2 separate regions of the Homo sapiens genome follow, and region 2 is linked to region 1. Evidence: promoter capture Hi-C in 16 types of primary human blood cells and fetal thymus (Javierre and others, 2016). All regions are on one chromosome and are shown on one strand. The core of a region is centred on a gene start or on the middle of the fragment in contact, and the rest is flanking DNA. Distances in the headings are between cores, read along the strand shown. Region 1 holds the start of PLSCR4 (phospholipid scramblase 4). Region 2 has its middle 36 kb from the start of PLSCR2.

Region 1 (2,777 bases), core at 163-2,662:
TATGAACATGTTACAGTGCTGCAGAGATTTTGTTTATGGCCAGTCTTGGGGCCAGTTTATGGCCAGATTTTGGGGGGCTTGCTCCCAACAGTAACATATGCTATTATAATTTAGTTTCACCACCAGTTTCTTTGTTTTATGCTTTCAGTAAAACACTATGTCTGCATCTGAGAAATGTTCTGTGCAATTATTACTGAGAAGAACAGTATGAATTTTTTAATCTATTCTCACATGAATATTAACAAATAACACACATACAAAGAAAAATATAAAATTCTAGAACTCCACTCCCACATCCCTTCCCCTTTCCAACCTTCTCCCACAATGGGGTTCTGCCAAGTACTCCTCAGAGCTTAATCAAGCTTACTTCTGTCCAGTTCTGATTCTTTATAAGGTCAGAGGACCTTCAGTTCTCCCACTTCCTGTCAGTGTATTGTGCTTCTCTCCAAGCACCACCACAGAACTGAATCCCATTGGTCTGAAAGAAATATTTGTGCCTAACAGTAATAAGCAAATGGCATTTTTCTCCCAATGTCAGAAAACATGGGCAACCTGCTCCCTTTCCCCTTTATTGGCGTCTCTCCCGCCTTCCCTCCAAGATCAAATTGGCCTCCCCCAATTCTGTGGAAAAGAAAACAGAATTTCTGGGCCCTATGCCCAAGTGTTTCCAGCCAGCACGGCATTGCCAAGGCTAAATCACCAAGCCAAGGACCTGGGGGTGGGCGCAAATGCAAATCAAAAAGGCTCTTGAGGCCGGGTGCAGTGGCTCACGCCTGTAATCCCAGCACTTTTGGAGGCCGAGGCGGGCGGATCACGAGGTCAGGAGATCGAAACCATCCTGGCTAACACGGTGAAACCCCGTCTCTAGTAAAAAATACAAAAAATTAGCCGGGCGTGGTGGCGGGCGCCTGTAGTCCCAGCTGCTAGGGAGGCTGAGGCAGGAGAATGGCCTGAACCTGGGAGGCGGAGCTTGCAGTGAGCCGAGATCGCGCCACTGCACTCCAGCCTGGGCGACAGAGTGAGACTCCGTATCAAAAATAAAAATAAAAAAATAAAAAAGGCTCTTGAGAAAGAGGGGTTTCTTCATTTTCTCTCTAGGCGCAGTAATCTATGAACAAAGCTCCCTTTCCCAGGCCCTGCAACCTGCCCCTCTGATTGGAAGTGACCGTGGGCTGGCTTTTATCTTTTCTTTCACCTCTTATTAGAGTAGTGACAACTTATTTTCTTCATTTCTTCCTCCCCCTCGGCTTTTAGGTTTCAGCGGACTTCAGGGTGCCCCACCTCTTCCAGGAAGACGCTCCCCCGGGCTGGCGGCTCTCCCAGCGCGGGGCGGGGTCCGAGACGGGGAAGCCGCGCGCGGGGAAGGAGGGTCCAGGCGTGCCGGACCCGCCCCCAGAACCCGCGCCTAGCCCTCCCTTCCGCGCGCTTACTTTGTTTATAACTTGAAAAATCCTCTCCGTCTCCCTTCCCTGCCTCCTTTCCTTTCCCTTTCCTCTGCCAGTACAACTAGACCCGGCGTCTGGCGTCCCCGGTGCCCAGCATTCTGCGGGGCAGGCGGTGAGTGGGGCTGGACAGGCGGGCGCAGAGCAGGACAGGGTGGCGCGGGCGCCCGGGCTGCGGGGCCGAGGGCGTCGTCAGGGGAGGCCCGAGGCCGCGGTGCCTGCGGGCAGGCGCGGAGGTTGCGCGGCGTCCTGCGCTAGCAGTTCCCGGACACTGCGCTCGCGTCGCATCCTCAGGTGGTTGCAGAAGTTCCGTGGTGTCGGGCGCGCGTCTGCACTGCAGACGCAGAGGGTTTGGGAGCGAGCAGTTTCCTGCCCAGGGATGGGGGTCCTGGCTGCACTTCACGGGGGCGGCCCTTTCGTTTCGCTCTGCGTGACAGGTCTCGCTTGATTGGGTTTCTCATGGGTCTCTGGCGTTTCTACGGCGCGGCTCTCACGGACTCAGGCCAGGCCACTCGCAGGTAAAAACGCTATTTATAGTAACTTTTTAATTGCTCAGCGAGTGGAGGCGGTGACAGGAGAGAATCCCTCTCTCTTATTTCCAATTCTGGCAAACTGGGGCGATTTGGGGCTGTGCTTGATTTGTTTTTAAAAACGTTCATATTTAAAGACTTAGGATTTTATTTTGTGGCCTTATCTTCTCTTAGGATCTACAATTTAGTTTTTAATTTTATACTGCATTTAGAATGGAGCCACCAAAATAAGTACTTGTGAAGATATAATGCACCAAACTTGATACTGCTTAAAGGGGAATAGATTGCCTAATTTAAATTGCATTCTCCTGTAATAGTAATAGAACACAACCTCCATCTGTCTATCTGCTCTCATGGATAGCTGTGAAATACTAGCAGCATTTCCATTAAATTTGAAAAAGACAAGAATGCTAATCATTACACTCTGTGACATGGTTGTGAATTCTATGGGCGAGTGACAACAGGTAGGGGAACATATTATCACTTTATGCATGATGTGAGTGTATACCTTAATGTCCATAGGAAACACTGAAATTTGATGGGAAGCATAAGTGAATTTATCAAAGTTTCCAATTGCATCATACTTAATTTATAGAAGTCAGTTGATGTTTATACATAAACTAGATAATACAGTAAAATAAAGTAAAATTCAGTTTGGCATGAAATAACACACAATTGAGAAATTATTTTTAAGAAGATATAAAAAGGTATGTATGAGAATCCAATAAAATACATAACATTCTTCTAGGTAAAGATATCATTTCTCTAAAACAACGTATAAGTAGAATCCTAACTGAATATTTTT
Region 2 (2,700 bases), core at 30-2,529, 250 kb before region 1:
AAAAAAATGGTCTGCTTGGGATCTGTCTGTTTCCTTAAAGTTTCAGTATGATTGTGTAACATTTGGCATGAGTGACTCTATTGTGGTTTAATCTGGTTTGTTGGAGTCTAGTGCGTGAGCTCACTCCAAAACAATGACCTCCCACAATTTTTGTTTACACACACACACACACACACACACACACACACACACACACGGTATATATTCACTTTTTTTACCCCTATTGGTTCTCTTTCTCTGGAGAACCCTGAATAATATGCCAACTTTCCTCTTTCCTCTATAATCAACTTCAATGAATATTTCTGTACATGTATCCTTGTGCTCATGTCAAAAAAAGCATTTATGATTATCCTTATGAGTAAAATTGCTGCTTCTAAGGGTCTAAACATCATTATGAAATATTGTAATATTGCTCTCCAAATAAATCATACCAATTTATTGTCTAAACACCAGTGTATGACCATCACTACAGCTTTACATCCCCCATCAGATCTGGTATTGTTGGGTTATGTTTTGTTTTGGTGAATTCCCAATATTTTTAATTGGGAATCTCATTCTTGTTTTCATCTGCATGAAATTGTGAGGTTGAGTATGTTTTCATTTGTTAAAATTAGATGTTCATGTTTCCTCTAATGTGAATCATCTTTTTGCACACTTTAGTAATTTTTGTATTTGTTTGCTGTCAACTTTCTTATTAATTTGTAGAAGTTTCTTTTTATGCAACCAAATCTTTTATAAGTTTGTAGGCATTGTAAATATCTTCTCTCAGGATATGGCTTTTAATTCACTTTATTTGTGAAATAATATTTTTGTTGTCTAGAGAAATTTTAAATCATATCATTTTTTCAAGGTTTGTATTTTTTTTCTTTTGTTTTGAAGGTTTATTTTTCATAGATAGGTCATTACTCCATTTGGAACTTTTTAATATATGAGTAGATATCTAATTTTATTGTATACAAACAGCTAATCGCTCCAATAACAGCAAAGAGTTCATCTTTTCTACTGATTTGTATTGCTACTTTTGCCAGCCATCCACTTTTCATAGATTTATGGATCTGTTTCCAAGCTTACTCTCCTATTCTGTTGCTCAATATTTTTGTATAAACAATTCCCTTCAAATATTCCTGACAGCTTATTTCCTCTTGAATGTTATTCTGGTCTGGTCCCCTTAAACAGCTGCAATTTATTGATGGAACATAAAACAGGCAAAAGGAAGGAGCAAGACACAGAGTTAATTTAATATCCTGATAAAATAGATCAGCCTTTAGTATTTTAACAGCTATATATTATTTATTTAGTAATTTTGGTTTTGTTTGTAAACAAGCAAGTTATATTGTGGTAAAGAAGAAATATGGGAGTCAAAATAAGACTTTAAAGATGTATCTAATTTTGTAATTAAAATACATTTCCTACTCAACATTTTTTTAATTTTATGTAAAATATTTTAGGCTACACTGTGCATGTTTTAAAACCACTTGATTTTAAAGCTTTTTAATAGAAGAAAAAAGATACAAAGCTGAAGTTGTAAGGGTAAGTGTTAAGTATTGAAGTTTTGTGGGCCTAACAAATGACTGGTTTATATAATTTGTAGAATACTTTTTTATTTTACATACTTACCTAATATAAGTGGTGCCTAAATAAGTAATGCTTTATAGGACGAATTGATGCAGGTGGGAGAGTCACTGTGATATGAGACTGTCAGAGGCCTTTGAACCAGAGCAATTCTATTGTGAATAGGGGCTGGATAAAGTAAGTCTGAGACCTACAGGGCTGCATTCCCAGGAGGTTAGGCATTCTTAGTCAAAGGAAGACACAGGAGGTAGCTCAAGACACAAGTCACAAAGACCTTGATCATAAAACAGGTCGTGGTAAAGAAGCCAGCCAAAACCCACCAAAACCAAGATGTCAAGGAAAGTGATCTCTGGCCTTCCTCACTGCTCATTATATGCTAATTATAATGCATTAGCATACTAAAAGACCCCACCAGCACCATGACAGTTTACAAATGCCATGGAAATGTCTGGAAGTTACCCTATGTGATAAAAAAAGGGAAGGAACTCTCAGTTCTGGGAATTACCCGCCTCTTTCCCAGGAAACTCATGAATAATCCACCCCTTGTTGAGATATAATTGATAAATAACTATAAGCATACTAAGTCAAGTAGCCCATGCCACTGCTCTATCTATGGAGTAGCCATTGTTTTATTCCTTTACTTTCTTAATAAACTTGCTTTCACTTTAGTCTATAGGCTTGCCTCTAATTCTTTCTTGAGTGAGGTCCAAGAACTCTTCTCCTGGGGTCTAGATCAGGACCCCTTTCCAGTAACAAAACTAGGGAAAGTTATCAACTTAACTTACAAGTAAATTAAAATAAGCTTAATTCAACTGAGTAAATATTAAATACACTATCAAAGAGAATACAGTCAGAAAGACAAAAAACAAGGAGGGAAATGAAGGAGAATCAAGAATGTTTGCATTCGGCCGTGCTCGGTGGCTCACGCCTGTAATCCCAGCACTTTGGGAGGCTGAGGCGGTGCGGATCACGAGGTCAGGAGATCGCCACCATCCTGGCTACCACGGTGAAACCCCGTCTCTACTAAAAATACAAAAAAATTAGCCAGGTGTGGTGGCGGGTGCCTGTAGTGCCAGCTACCCGGGAGGCTGAGGCAGGAGAATGGCGTGAACCCCGGGAGGCAGAGCT

What was found. The method cuts DNA at HindIII sites, captures the fragments that hold promoters and counts their contacts. A CHiCAGO score of 5 or more calls a contact.
Region 2: a contact is called between a fragment that was not itself captured here and the fragment with the promoter of PLSCR4 in region 1, in 1 of 17 cell types (erythroblasts). The highest score is 5.4, in erythroblasts.

Annotation. Positions count from the first base shown.
Region 1 is chr3:146,249,740-146,252,516 of GRCh38, reverse strand. It overlaps PLSCR4 (phospholipid scramblase 4), which reads left to right and starts at 1,412. Exons shown (of 9, transcript NM_020353.3): 1 at 1,412-1,557. The HindIII fragment of the contact is 7,000 bases long and covers 365-2,777 here.
Region 2 is chr3:146,504,109-146,506,808 of GRCh38, reverse strand. No RefSeq gene overlaps it. Among named protein-coding and RNA genes, the nearest start is that of PLSCR2, 36 kb to the right of the region's middle. RefSeq lists enhancers at 1-58, 2,683-2,700, 2,370-2,700. The HindIII fragment of the contact is 421 bases long and covers 1,069-1,489 here.